Linked DNA regions of Homo sapiens: regions 1 and 2 are each linked to region 3. Evidence: promoter capture Hi-C in human tissues and cell types (Jung and others, 2019). All regions are on one chromosome and are shown on one strand. Each heading gives the region's core, a stretch centred on a gene start or on the middle of the fragment in contact. The rest is flanking DNA. Distances are from core to core; before and after follow the strand shown. Region 1 has its middle 16 kb from the start of MYBL2. Region 2 overlaps YWHAB (tyrosine 3-monooxygenase/tryptophan 5-monooxygenase activation protein beta). Region 3 holds the start of FITM2 (fat storage inducing transmembrane protein 2).

Region 1 (4,584 bases), core at 79-2,578, 660 kb before region 3:
CAGGACAGTCGCTTGAACCCCAGAGGCAGAGGTTGTGGTGAGCTGAGGTTGTACCACTGCACTCCAGCCTGGGCAACAGAGCAAGACTGTCTCAAAAAAAAAAAAAAAATTAGCCAGACATGGTCAGGCATAGTGGCTCATAGCTGTAGTCCCAGCTACTTGGGAGGCTGAGGTGGGGAAAATCATTGAACCTGGGAGGCAGAAGTTGCAGTGAGCCAAGATCACATAACTGCACTCCAGCCTGGGTGACAGAGCAAGACTGTCAAAAAAAAAAAAAAAAATTAAGAGATAGATGTGTTTATTATTATTTTTATTTTTATTTTTTTTATTTTTTTTAAGAAGGAGTCTCGCCCTTTTGCCCAGGCTGGAGTGCAGTGGCGCTATCTTGGCTCACTGCAAACTCCACCTCCCAGGTTCATGCCATTCTCCTGCCTCAGCCTCCCAAGTAGCTGGGACTACAGGCACCCACCACCATGCCTGGCTAATTTTTTGTATTTTTAATAGAGACGAGGTTTCACTGTGTTAGGCAGGATGGTCTCGATCTCCTGACCTCATGATCCACCAGCCTCGGCCTCCCAAAGTGCTGGGATTACAGGTGTGAGCCACTGCACCCGGCCATTATTATTATTTTTTTAGCTCATCAGCCATTGTTAGTGTATTTTGTGTGACCCAAGACAATTCTTCCAATGTTGCCCAGGGAAGCCAAAAGATTAGATACTCCTGATTTAGAAGCTGAGCCTGGGGAACAAAAGTGAAAGTCCATCTCTACAAAAATGAAAATTAGCCAGGTATAGTGGCACACACCTGTAGTCCCAGGTATTTGGGAGACTGAGGTGGCAGGATTGCTTGAGCCCAGGAGTTCAAAGCTGCACTAGCTATGATCATACCACTGCACTCCAGAATGGGCCACCCATGCTTCTTCCCTGTCCTCTGGCTTCCTGAAGCACTCAGTTCTATCATCATCTTGGGTTATAATGTAGGGCCAAATTTAATCATCTGTTCCAAGGAGGCTAGAGGGTATTGTCATGGGACAATGGGAGAGACTGCACCTGTCAGAATGGTGCAGTTGGTGTATAGAAATGCACAGCAGTGTACTGACATACACAGATAACCAGCTTTGGGGAACTCTGAAAGCCAGATGGAAGGTTGCAGAGCCACTGAGGATAGGAGAGGAGAGAAGGGAGAGGAGAGGAGAGGAGGGGAGGGGAGGGGAGGTGGGAGGAAAGGGGGGAGGGGGGAGGGGAGGAGCAATTCCCATTGCTGCACAATGGGAATAGTTTAGCTGGTGGGTTCTATAAAGATGGGAATGGTAGAAGGATGGTCATTTACAGAAGAGTTTGATACAACCCCAAGAGCAAATAATAAGGATGTGGACTAAGGTGGTATTATAGGAAAGGTGGCATTTTGAAACACTTTGGTCTGGGTGTTGAAAGTTAGATTGGCAAGATTTGGGGCTTGATTTCCTGGGACAGTGGGGGCAGCTATTAAAAGATGGGGAGTCTAGGCCAGGCACGGTGGCTCATGCCTGTAATCCCAGCAATTTGGGAGGCCGAGACGGGCAGATCACCTGAGATCAAGAGTTCTAGACCAGCCTGGCCAACATGGTGAAACCCCGTCTCTACTAAAAATACAAAAATTAGCCTGGCGTGGCGGGCGCCTGTAATCCCAGCTACTCAGGAGACTGAGGTGGGAAAATTGCTTGAACCCGGGAAGTGGAGGTAGCAGTGAGTCGAGATCATGCCATTGCACTCCAGCCTGGGTAACGAGGGAAACTCTATTAAAAAAAAAAAGATGGGGAGTCTGAAGGATGAGTGGTTTTGGAGCATAAGAGTCCAGTTGAGACTATGGCAATTAATACAGGTGGAAATAACTAGTAAATGGCTGGAAATCCCTAATTTAGGCTTAGAAAAGATGTCCAGTCTCAAGAGTGGAGTTGTTCATATGGAGTGGTTAATTAAAGTCATGAGAATCATTTGTCAAAGAGTAGTGTTAGAAATTTAAAAGCTTGGGAAGAACAGCTCAAGTCAAATCCTGAGTTTCAAATGATTTCTTCATGGTAAAGCTCTGTTCATAGGCTTCCATTCTCTCCCATACTCAAGCCCTAGTACACGGCTTATTCAGAGTTGCCAGCCAGGGCAGGGCACTGGGGAACGGGGAAGCCACTCCAGGGGCAGAAGAATTTGGGGGCTCTAGCTCAAAGCTGGGAGATAAGCAGCTAGAGGACAGGCCTGGGGAGTGCTGTGGCAGTGTGTTCCAAATACATACCCAAAATGTGTTCAATGATTGTCTCCCAACCCAAATGCTCTTCTCTTATCCTGTGGGCTTGATGCTCCTCCCATTGAGAGGTGGGGTCTCTGTTCCCTCCTCTGAATCTTTGAATCTGGCACCGTGGCAGAAGTGATGCTGGTGACCTCTGAGGCTAGTTCATAAAAGGCTATACAGCTTCTGCCTGGTTATCTTGGGACATTCACCTTTAGAACACAAGCCTCCATGTAAGAAGTCCAAGGCCACGTGGATAGGCCATGTATAGGTGTTCTGGCCAACAGCCAGAGATCTCAGTCTATACCAGCATCTTGGTATAAATCGCTTGCCAAACATGAATGATGATACCTCCAAATGACTCCTGGCCCCAACCATCAAGCACCTCAGCCTTTTGTCATCCCAATTGAGGTCCCAGATGTCATAGAGCAGAGACAAGCCATCCCTGCTGTGTTCTTTGTGAATTCCTGACTCCCAGAATCCATGAATATAATAAAATGGGAAGGAAGGTGTGCCCTCACTGCCATTTTGTTATATTTGTTTTTATTTTTATTTTTGTTTTTTTGTTTTGTTTTGTTTTTTGAGACAGGGTCTCATTCTGTCTCCCAGGCTGGAGTGCAGTGACACAATCTCAGCTCACTGCACCCTCTGCCTCCCAGGTTCAAGTGATTCTCCTGCCTCAGCCTCCCCAATAGCTGGGATTACAGGCACGTGCCAACACGCCTGGCTAATTTTTTGTATTTTTAGTAGAGACAAGGTTTCACCATGTTGACCAGGCTGGTCTCAAACTCCTGACCTCAAGTGATCCACCCGCCTCGGCCTCCCAAAGCGCTGTGATTACAGGCGTGAGCCACTGCGCCCAGCCTTGTTTTTGATTTTTTTGAGACAGGGTCTTGCTCTGTTGCCCAGGCTGAAGTGCACTGGTGTGATCATAGCTCACTGTAACCTCAACCTCCTGGGCTCAAGCAATCCTCCTGCTTCAGCTTTCCGAGTAACTGGGACTACAGGTGTATGCTACCATACCCAGCTAATTTTAAAAAATGTATTTTAAAATACATTGAGTGGCTGGGCGCAGTGGCTCATGCCCGTAATCCCAGCACTGTGGGAGGCTGAGGGGGGCAGATCACGAGGTCAGGAAATCGAGACCATCCTGGCTAACACGGTGAAACCCCATCTCTACTAAAAAATACAAAAAAATTAGCCGGGCATGGTGGCAGGCGCCTGTAGTCCCAGCTACTTGGGAGGCTGAGGCAGGAGAATGGCGTGAACCCAGGAGGCGGAGCTTGCAGTGAGCGGAGATCGGGCCACTGCACTCCAGCCTGGGCGACAGAGTGAGACTCGTCTCAAAGAAAAGAAAAAAAAAAAAAAAATATATATATATATATATATATATAGAGAGAGAGAGAGAGAGAGAGAGAGAGTCTTTCGTCTGAGCCGCCAAAATGCCATCCAGACTGAGGAAGACCCAGAAACTTCGGGGCCATGTGAGCCATGGCCATGGCCGCATAGGCAAGCTCCAAAAGCACCCCAGAGGCCACAGTAATGCTGGTGGAATGCATCACCACAGGATCAACTTCAACAAATACTACCCAGGTTACTTTGGGAAAGTTGGTATGAGGTATTACTTAAAGAGAAACCAGAGTGGCCGGGCGCGGTGGCTCACACCTGTAATCCCAGCACTTTGGGAGGCCGAGGCGGGTGGATCATGAGGTCAGGAGATCGAGACCATCCTGGCCAACAAGGTGAAACCCCGTCTCTACTAAAAATACAAAAAATTAGCCGGGCACGGTGGCGGGCGCCTGTAGTCCCAGCTACTCGGGAGGCTGAGGCAGGAGAATGGCGTGAACCCGGGAAGCGGAGCTTGCAGTGAGCCGAGATTGCGCCACTGCAGTCCGCAGTCCGGCCTGGGTGACAGAGCGAGACTCCGTCTCAAAAAAAAAAAAAAAAAAAAAAAAAAAAAAGAGAAACCAGAGTTTCTGCCCAGCTGTCAGCCTTGACAAATTGTGGACTTTGGTCAGTGAGCAGACACAGGTGAATGCTGCTAAAAACAAGCCTGGGGCTGCTCCCCTCATTGATGTGGTGCAATCGGGCTACTACAAAGTTCTGGGAAAGGAAAAGCTCCCAAAGCAGCCTGTCATTGTGAAGGCCAAATTCTTCAGCAGAAGAGCTGAGAAGATTAAGGGTGTCAAGGGGACCTGTGTCCTGGTGGCTTGAGGCCACATGGAGGGAGGTTCATTAAATGCTAACTACTTAAAAAAAACAAATAGGCCAGGTGCAGTGGCTCACGCCTGTAATCCCAGCACTTTGGGAGGCCGAGGTGGGTGG
Region 2 (4,667 bases), core at 149-2,648, 580 kb after region 3:
CCTAAAAGAACCAACAGGAGGTTATTTCTGAATGGCCTTGACCAGGACAAGAAGATTGAAGGCTACAATAAAGTAGATATGAGTCCTGTCTATTATTATTATTTGCCCTCAGCTAAGAGCTTTCCTTTAAAATTTGTTTGACATTTTGGTAAGTCTTTGGCATGTTTTTATGCTGTTTTTAACTCCTTGATTTTGTTTTTATTTTTAAAGCTAGATAACATTAGCTTAATAGGCCAGTTTTAAAATTTCACTGTAACAACCTTGTATAGTTCTTTTAAAAGTTGACAATTCTCTCTTTTCCTTAAGTGAGCATTGGAGTTCATAATTGATCTTTAGGAGATAGGGTTACATAAAGGAAAGAGCATTAATTTTAAAATTAATGTTGGTTTAGATCCCAGATCTGCCATATATAGCTGTGTGACCCTGAATGAGTTAACTCTTTGCATTTATAAAACGGGACAATGTCACCTGCCTCATAGGATACTTAGGATCAAATGCGTTTCTAGGAATCCCTGAGTGCTTTGCAGGCCATAAATGATGGATGGATATTTTTGTTATTTACTAAACGAGTTAGCTGGTTTGGGTTTCTGTATAGTGAACTTTTTGTATAGCGAACTGATTGGACTTCTGAATGGAGGAGATGGACAGAAAGTAATCCAAAGGCTTGTTGAAAGTCAGTTTGAATCTATAAATACAATGATTGGTAGCTGAAAAATATTAGTCAAAATGTATAGTGTTGCTCCTGATGAGAGCTGGCTGGCTTTTTTCAAAAAGTAGTCTAAGACAATAAAAACAGTCTGTATTTTATAGGTCAGATGTGTGCTACCTTCCTCTGTCCACGTAGGAAATAATTGCTTTTTCACTTTTTAAGAATGCATCAGTTGATCAAGCAGTCACTCAGTGTGCTAGGCCTTGTACTCCACATTGGGTGTCCAAAGATACAAGTCTGGATTCCTACTTTTTTTTTTTTTTTTTTTTTTTTTTGTGAGATGGAGTCTCACTCTGTCACCCAGGCTGGAGTGCAGTGGCACGATCTTGGCTCACTGCAACCTCTGAAGCCCGGGTTCAAGCAATTCTCCTGCCTCAGCCTCCTGAGTAGCTGGGATTACAGGCGCCTGCCACTGCGCCCAGCTAATTTTTGTATTTTTAGTAGAGACAGGGTTTCGCCATCTTGGCCAGGCTGGTCTTGAACTCCTGACCTTGCGATCCACCTGCCTCGGCCTCCCAAAGTGCTGGGATTACAGGCGTGAGCCACCACGCCTGGCTGGATTCCTACTTTAAGCTCACAATCCGGTGTGGGAGCCAGCAGAGACACTTGCATTGCAGTAAACTGTGATAAGGGCCATTTTAGAAATAAGCATAGGGAAATTGTTATGTGCCTTTCTTTTAAAAGTCTTTAAAGAAAGCAGAGTACGTGTAAAATAAATGAGGTACATAGTAAGTTTCCCTTCACTGGCTGACCATTGGTTTTTTAAGTTTTGTGTGGAATGTACTGTGGTTGCCATTTATTTGAGTGCTTACTGTTTTATATCATAAACAGGTTTACTCCTTACAGGAACCCTAGTAAGTAGATTTGCCTATGTTTTTTTTTTTCTTCACAGAGTCTTGCTCTGTCGCCTAGGCTGGAGTGCAGTGGCGTGATCTCAGCTCACTGCAGCCTCTGCCTTCAGGCTGCCTCAGCCTCCCAATTAGCTGGGATTACAGGCGCCTGCCACTATACCCGGCTAATTTTTTTATATATTTAGTAGAGACGGGGTTTCACCATGTTGGCCAGGCTGGTCTTGAACTCCTGACCTCAAGTGATCACCCTCCTCGGCCTCCCAGAGTGCTGGGATTACAGGCGTGAGCCACCACGCCCAGCCCAGATTTGCCTGTATTATGGATGAGAAAACAAATTCACAGAGGTCACATAGCCTGTGGACTTGGTGTGCGGTACTGGTAAATCAGACTGATAGGCTTCATTATGTCAGTGGGCCCCAAACTGTAGAAATTATTCATAAGGTCAACCAATTGGGCTGTCTTTATGGATCAGAATTAACATAGTGTCTTTTGGATTGATTACTTAAGCCAAGAAGTCAATTTATTGTCATATCTACCATTAAGTCACATGTGTAACCTTGCGCCTGTCACTTAACACCCTCAGTAAGTTTAATCATGGCTAATTGGACATAATTAGCAATGATATGCAACAGCTGATGTGAAAGAGGGAAGGGATTTTGAAATAATAGAAATGCAGTTTCTCTCCAAATTCAGTGTTCACTGGACTTAGTGCTAATGACTTTGTATTACAGATATGCTGTGTTTTGTTTCCTAACAAAGAACCTGCAAATGTTTGAATGGAATTAAATTTATTACAGGACTCTAAATTTTATATGTAGAATGGCACACAGACAGTTTTATAGTGGGTGTTTTTTAGTGAGTAGTTTTCTCTGAGAGCCAGGAGTGTTTAACTTTTTCTGGGTAACACCCACTAACCACCTGGTCCCACTGACTTTCTCAGTCCCTTCTGCAGTAGCTTGGCATCTGATTTTTCTTCAGCAGAGAGACTCCAGAACTAAAACTTCTGCTGTACAGTGCTGTGGATGCTCTATCTGGAATGGTACATCTGTGAATGCTGTTCAGAATATGTGATCAGTTCCTTACCCCATTGAAACATTCGAGCCTAGATTTTTCAGATTTTCTTGTCAGTTTTCTTCCTTATTCTCATTTCTTTATCTGCTTTGGCCTTTGATTTTTATCTCATCTAGAAAAACATACATGCACTTTATTAATAACATCTCTTTTTAAGTCACGACCTAGCTACCTTTAAACCTATTTCCTCTAGTTCTGTCTGGTTGGCTTTCTAAGGAGAGGCATTGTAACCCTTAAACGTGTGCTGTTTTTTTTTTTAATTGATGTGTAATAGATATACATGTGCTCTTTTCTTGTGTTTCTACCACTAGAGTTTAAGCTCTCTGAGGGGAGGACTACACTGCTTTCTTTTAAATTCCTCTCAATGAATAATCCAAAGAGTTCTTAGAAATTTGGTAGTTTTTCATTTTGTTAGTTATTTCAACACACATTGGATTATATGTGTTACATTTTTGTGAGGTAGCTTAAGAATAAAAAATAAGAATGGCTTATGAGCCTTTACTCTAACCAGCACTATATGGGCATTTTATGTTCATTATCTTATTTGATAGCTATTAATGTCTCTTTTTAACACTGAGAAAACAGATTCAGGTAAGTTATAATGTGGAAATGTAGAAAAATCACCTACTTTCTCTTTAGAAGCTCAGATGTGTATGTAAGGCTTGCTAAAAGCAGACCCCACCGTATATTTTATATGTATAGAGCTTGGGTAATTCCTGACATATAATAATGGAGTCTTCATCTGAAATTTCTAACAAATTATTAAATTCAAAGCTTATTATTTTCGAATCGAGCATGTTCTTTGCCTTGAAAACAAAACATAGCTGAAAGCCAGTGCTTCTAAAGGCCACAGCTGTCATTTTCAACCCTTTCTGTCTTTGCACTGCCTTTATTTAAAAAAAAATGGATTAGCAGTAGGTAGTCTTCTTTTTCTTTTCTTTCTTTCTTTTTTGATTCTTCTCCTAGGATATCTGCTCTAGCCACTGGGAAATAACTTCTCAGTATTTTGACCCTGACTAGAAAGATGTCCCTTGGGGAAGGAATTGGGATAGAGGGGCTAGGCTGTTTCCTAGATCCTCTATTTTCAGCATTTATTATCTGATTTAGGATTTTGTTTCTTTGAAGAAAATCCTATTTTGTGAGTACCTTTAGAATTATTTTTCATAGCTGTTTATCTGCACTAGTGGTTTCTCTTTAAACAGAAAAACACTTTTTTTCTTAAAAAAAGAAATAGTACCCAATTTTTAAAAAAGTAATACATACTTGAAGAAAATTTAAAAAGATAGGAAAATGAGGATATAATAATGTTATTACCCAGAGACAGAACCAGTGTTAACCATTTGGTGTAACCTTTCTGTTCGGGTTTGTTTGTTCTTTAGGGGATATTTTACAGAAATAAAATATTGTGCAGCCTCGTCCCTCCAGCCCCCATTGCTCTTAAATAAATCTTTTCATGACATTAAATCTCTTCTTTTGATGGCCACGTAATCTTGTACCATCTATCTCCTTCCCTCCCCTGCCTTTTTTTTTTTTTTTTTTTTTGAGACGGAGTTTCGCTCTTGTCGCCCAGGCTGGAGTGTAGTGGCGCAGTTTCGGCTCACTGCAACCTCCACCTCCTGGGTTCAAGTGATTATCCTGCCTCAGCCTCCCGAGTAGCTGGGATTACAGTCATACACCACCCCGGCTAATTTTTTTGTATTTTTAGTAGAAACGGGGTTTCACCACATTGGCCACGCTGGTCTCGAACTCCTGACTTCAGGTGATCTGCCTGCCTTGGCCTCCCAAAGTGCTGGGATTACACACGTAAGCCAGTGCACCTGGCCAGTCTCCTTATTTTTTAAACCATTCCCATATTGTTGGATATTTAGATTTGCTTCCATTTTTTCACTAAGCAATCTCTGCGTTTATCAACAAATGCTTCCCAGTCCTGACTTGCTGCATCCAGTGGCTTAGAACAGATTGACAGCCATCATCATCATATAGGTGTGCTGGAGAGCTCCTGTTCTCAAGCACGTCAGTCTCTTCCTGAAATATGC
Region 3 (4,691 bases), core at 1,079-3,578:
AACAATGAGCTTTACTTTAAGCCAAAGACACGGGTTCAACTCTTGACTCTGACTTAACTTATTATACCTCCTACCTCTCCAGCCCTCAGTTTCTTCAGCTATTAAACAGAGCTGGGGGGACCAAATGATTTTTTTTTTTTTGAGACAGAGTTTTCACTCTTATTACCCAGGAGTGCAGTGGCACGATCTCGGCTCACTGCAACCTCCGCCTCCCGGGTTCAAGCAATTCTCCTGCCTCAGCCTCCGGAGTAGCTGGGATTACAGGCACCTACCACCACACTCGGCTAATTTTTGTATTTTTATTTTTATTTATTTATTTATTTTGAGACAAAGTCTCACTCTGCCATCCAGGCTGGAATGCAGTGGCATGATCTCAGCTCACTGCAACCTCCGCCTCCCAGGTTCAAGTGATTCTCTTGCCTCAGCCTCCTCAGTAGTTGGAATTACAGGCACGCACCACCACGCCAGGCTAATTTTTGTATTTTTAGTAGAGATGGGGTTTCACCACGTTGGCCAGGCTGGTCTTGAACTCCTGACCTCAAGTGATCCACCTGCCTTGGCCTCCCAAAGTGCCTGGATTACAGGTGTGAGCCACTGCGCCCAGCCTGGTTCTTTCCTAACGGCAGAAACAGTCTTGCAACAAGGTCTTACTTTAAGCCAAAAGACCGGGGTTCAAATCTTCACTCTTACGGGTTCAAATCTTCACTCTTACTTAACTTACTATACCTCCTACCTTTCCAGGCCTCAGTTTCTTCAGCTATCAAACAGAGCTGAGAGGACCAAATGATTTTTAAGGTCCCTTCTATATCCCAGGATTCACTAGTTCCCTCTCATTAATCAGCACAGAGGCTTGGAACAAAACTCCAGGATCCATGACTACCTTCAAACAACAGGGGTGTGTTGTCAGCCAGGCCACTTGGCTCCCAGCTCACCTAGGCCAGAGGAAGCAGCAGCTGCCTTGTCCGCCTCCCCAGCGTTCACGAAAGGTGGCTGACCTAAACCCAGGACAGAGACTTGGGGCCACTACCACTCTCATGATCTATTCTTAGCCCAGCCTCTCAGGGTGGGTGAGGAAGGAAGGTGGACCAAGGACAGAAGGACTTTTTTCTAGGTTCCAATGGATTCTCAGGCACCACCCCCAGGCCTGTCACTAAAATCTTCACTGGGACTGATAAGGAAGATCTTGCCAGAGCCAAGACCCGTCAGGCATTTGAGGAAGCTGCCTGTGAAAGGAACCAGGGTTTTAAGCAGATAACCAAAGTTGGGCTGACTTTCAGGACACGCCAGAGACACTTATTCTGGAAAACACTTAGGCTCACATCAAGGGAGCAGTTTTATCTTTCAGAGTTTCCCTTTATGACCGCAACAGAGTTTTTGTGCAATAAACTTACTAACCGGGAGTTTTGAAAAAAGCAAGTAAGCAAGCAAAGGAGTGGATGGGTGGAGTTAAGGAGATGTCTCAAAGCGCCCAGCTGGGATTGCTTTTCTGGGCCACTGCCATGCATTCTGAGTGGCTGAGATGATCCAAGGAGATCCAGGGGAAAGGGCACAGACTAGGGGGTTCCAGCCCTCTGTGAGTATCTCACAGGCGGGGGCTCTGCCTGTCACAGGCTGGGGCGAGGCTCTTCCACAGGTCGTAAAGGGATTCTGTCACGCGCTGGAGGGATCTGATCTGACGCAGGGTGGGGTCTGCGCGGGGTCTGCCACAGGCAGGCAGGACAGAGGTGAGATGGCATCTCCCAAACAGGGCAGGGGTCAGCTCCTAACTCCAAGGGGAGGCGGGGGAGTGGTGACAGGGGCTGGTTCATCCCCACCCCATTCCACACCCCTACATATACAGAGACACACACGACCCCGCTTGTCACCACCTGCCCAGTCAAGCTCATGCTGCCCAAAGTGGGTCTGCAAACACTAACTGCTAGTGACACCAGCTACCCCGGGGCCTCCCAGGCGTGACACGCGTGCAGATGCTGCTGTCACGGCTAGGAGGAGGACCTCCCCTCCAATGACTCGTCCACCACGGCAGCTAGCACCGGCTTCTCTGGGCGAGGCGACAGCGGGCCGGCTCGGGCGGGGACAGCGGAGGACCGGGGTGCACTCACACGTTGAGGACGTTGCGCTTGTTGCTGAGGTAGCTCTCGGGCAACGGGGACAACTCCTTGAGGAGGGAGCCCGCCAGCATGGAGGCCACCAGGGCCCAGGGCAGGTAGCGCCGCACGGCCGCCCGCACCAGCGTCCCCCGCAACAACCACTCGCAGCGCTCCAGATGCTCCATGCCGGATCTCGTCAGCCACCGTCCTCCTCTCCGTGCCCTCTCGGCCACCGTATCGCCCTTCGCCCGGACCTGCGCCTCCACCTCCCTTCGAGCGCATGCGCACTGCCCGCGAGTCCCACAGCTTGAGGCGTGCTTGGGCTCCGGAGCCCGCGCGCTCCCCCTCGTGGCCGCTGCTGCCTCTGGCGCGTGACGGTCCCCGAACTCGCTCGTCTCCTCTGCGCTCTCCTGGCCGCCTCCTCTCCCCGAGCCTCCGCGTCTTGCTCTGGTCTGGGAAAAAGCGCTTGTGAAAGTATTTGCTGGAGGCTGGAAGAGGATAAATGTAGCCCTGGAGAATTGGAGCAGTAGTCACAGCATCATTTGATCTTTCTTGGAGCCTCGGAGACACCTCTGCCATCTGAGTCTTAGTTTTCTCATCTGTAAAATGCGAGAGACAAGAGGAGATCAACCTTTCCCAAAAGCTAGTTTATGAGCTCAGGGGTTCATTACGTTGGCACACGTAGAGGGACATGAGATGAAGTTTCCTTAGGAATAATTATTGTATTTATTTATTTATTAGTTAGTTGGGGGGGGGTCCCTCTCTGTCGCCCAGGCTGGAGTGCAATGGCACCGTCGCAGCTCACCGCAACCTCAAATTTCTGGTCTCAAGCAATACTCCCACCTCAGCCTCCCGAGTAGCTGGGACCACAGGCGGGCACCACCACACCTGGCTAATTTTTTTTATTTTTATTTCTGTAGAGACAGGGTTTTGCTTCGTTGTCGAGGCTGGTCTCAAACTCCTGGGCTCAAGCGATCCTCCTGCCTCGGCTTCCTAAAATGCTGCAATTACAAGTGTGAGCCACCACGCTCTGCAGTTATTAAATTAATTAATTAATATAATTAATTTATTTAGAGACATAGTCTCGCTCTGTTGCCCAGGCTGGAATGCAGTGGCGCGATCTCAGCTCACTGCAGGCCTCTGCCTCCCAGGTTCAAGCGATTCTCCTGCCTCAGCCTCCCGAGTAGCTGGGATTACAGGCACGCACCACCACACCCAGCTAATTTTTGTATTTTTAGTAGAGATGGGGTTTCACCATGTCGGCCAGGCTGACCAACTCCTGTCCTCAAGTGATCTGACCTCTCCAAATCTTAACCTCAAGTGATCTGCCAGCCTTCACCTCCCAAAGTGCTGAGATTACAGGAGTGAGCCATCTCACCTGGTGCAATTATTACATTTAAAGTTTAAATTTCTAAATTTATTTTCACCTGGGCAACACAGTGAGACTCAGTATCTATAAGAAATAATTTTAAAAACTAGCTGACTTGGTGGCTCAGGCCTGTGGTCCCAGCTACTCAGGAGGCTGAGGTGGGAGGATTGCTTGAGCCCAGGAATTTGAGGTTGCAGTGAGCTGTGATGGTCCCATTGCACTCCAGCCTGGGCCACGGAGCGAGACCGTCTTAAAAAGCACACAAAGAAACACAAAACAGCTATCTATGCCTGTTGGATGAAAATGCTGGATGCTGGGGGTTAATGGGGAGATCACATGAAGTTGTTGGAGACTCAGTTGCTCAGTTTATCACAAAACTAACCCCTCACCCCTGGTTAGGGCTGGGTGTCTATTTCAGTTCCCAACCTTGGACTCATTCCCTTACCCCAATGTTAGTTTCCTGTGGCAGCTCTAATAAATTACTATAAACTCAGTTTATTTTTATTCCTTTTTTTTTCTTTAGTTTTAAATAGAGATGGGGTCTCACTATGTTGCCCAGGTTGATCTCGAACGCCTGGGCTCCAGTGATCCTCCTGCCTCGGCCTCCCAAAGTGCTAGGATTACAGGTGCGAGCCACCGTGCCCAACCCTAAACTTGTTTTAAACAACAGAAGTTTATTCCAAAAGCCACAAACCCAGCCAATACACACATATATAGTCATATCAAGAGATGGGCATTTTAGGCCAGACGTGGTGGCTCACGCCTGTAATCCCAGCACTTTGGGAGGCCAAGCTATTTTGATCTTGGCTCACTGTAACCTCTGCCTCCCGGGTTCAAGGTAGTCTCCTGCCTCACCCTCCCAAGCAGCTGGGACTACAGGCACATGCCACCACACCTGGCTAATTTTTTTGTATTTTTAGACAGGGTTTCGCCATGTTGACCAGGCTGGTCTCCAACTCCTAGCCTCAAGTGATCTTCCTGCCTCTGCCTCTCAAAGTGCTGGGATTACAGGCGTGAGCCACCACACCCGGCCCAAAGAAAAATTTCTATCGAAATATTCATCATCACTAGCTGCCCAAAATAATTTTGTGTCTCTATACCAAGGACAGCTACCACACTGGGAAATGTTAGCCTGATTTATGCCTACAATGGACTAATGTTTATAGTCTCATGCAGAGAATCAACAAATTAATGAAAATAATAATTCCTTAAAACCATCTTAAGATGACCTT

The links. Contacts are between HindIII fragments. The study calls those that stand out against the background at their distance.
Region 1: a contact is called between a fragment that was not itself captured here and the fragment with the promoter of FITM2 in region 3, in 1 of the 25 tissues and cell types used here (dorsolateral prefrontal cortex).
Region 2: a fragment that was not itself captured here is called in contact with the fragment with the promoter of FITM2 in region 3 in 1 of the 25 tissues and cell types used here (hippocampus).

Annotation. Positions count from the first base shown.
Region 1 is chr20:43,648,822-43,653,405 of GRCh38, forward strand. It overlaps the pseudogene RPL27AP. Among named protein-coding and RNA genes, the nearest start is that of MYBL2, 16 kb to the right of the region's middle. The HindIII fragment of the contact is 6,998 bases long and covers 1-4,584 here.
Region 2 is chr20:44,889,543-44,894,209 of GRCh38, forward strand. The region is part of intron 1 of YWHAB (tyrosine 3-monooxygenase/tryptophan 5-monooxygenase activation protein beta); the gene reads left to right. Among named protein-coding and RNA genes, the nearest start is that of YWHAB, 6.2 kb to the left of the region's middle. The HindIII fragment of the contact is 5,673 bases long and covers 1-4,235 here.
Region 3 is chr20:44,308,874-44,313,564 of GRCh38, forward strand. It overlaps FITM2 (fat storage inducing transmembrane protein 2), which reads right to left and starts at 2,329. Exons shown (of 2, transcript NM_001080472.4): 1 at 2,103-2,329. The coding sequence starts at 2,275. RefSeq lists enhancers at 1,176-1,905, 1,852-1,941, 1,906-2,635, 2,232-2,381. The HindIII fragment of the contact is 18,619 bases long and covers 1-4,691 here.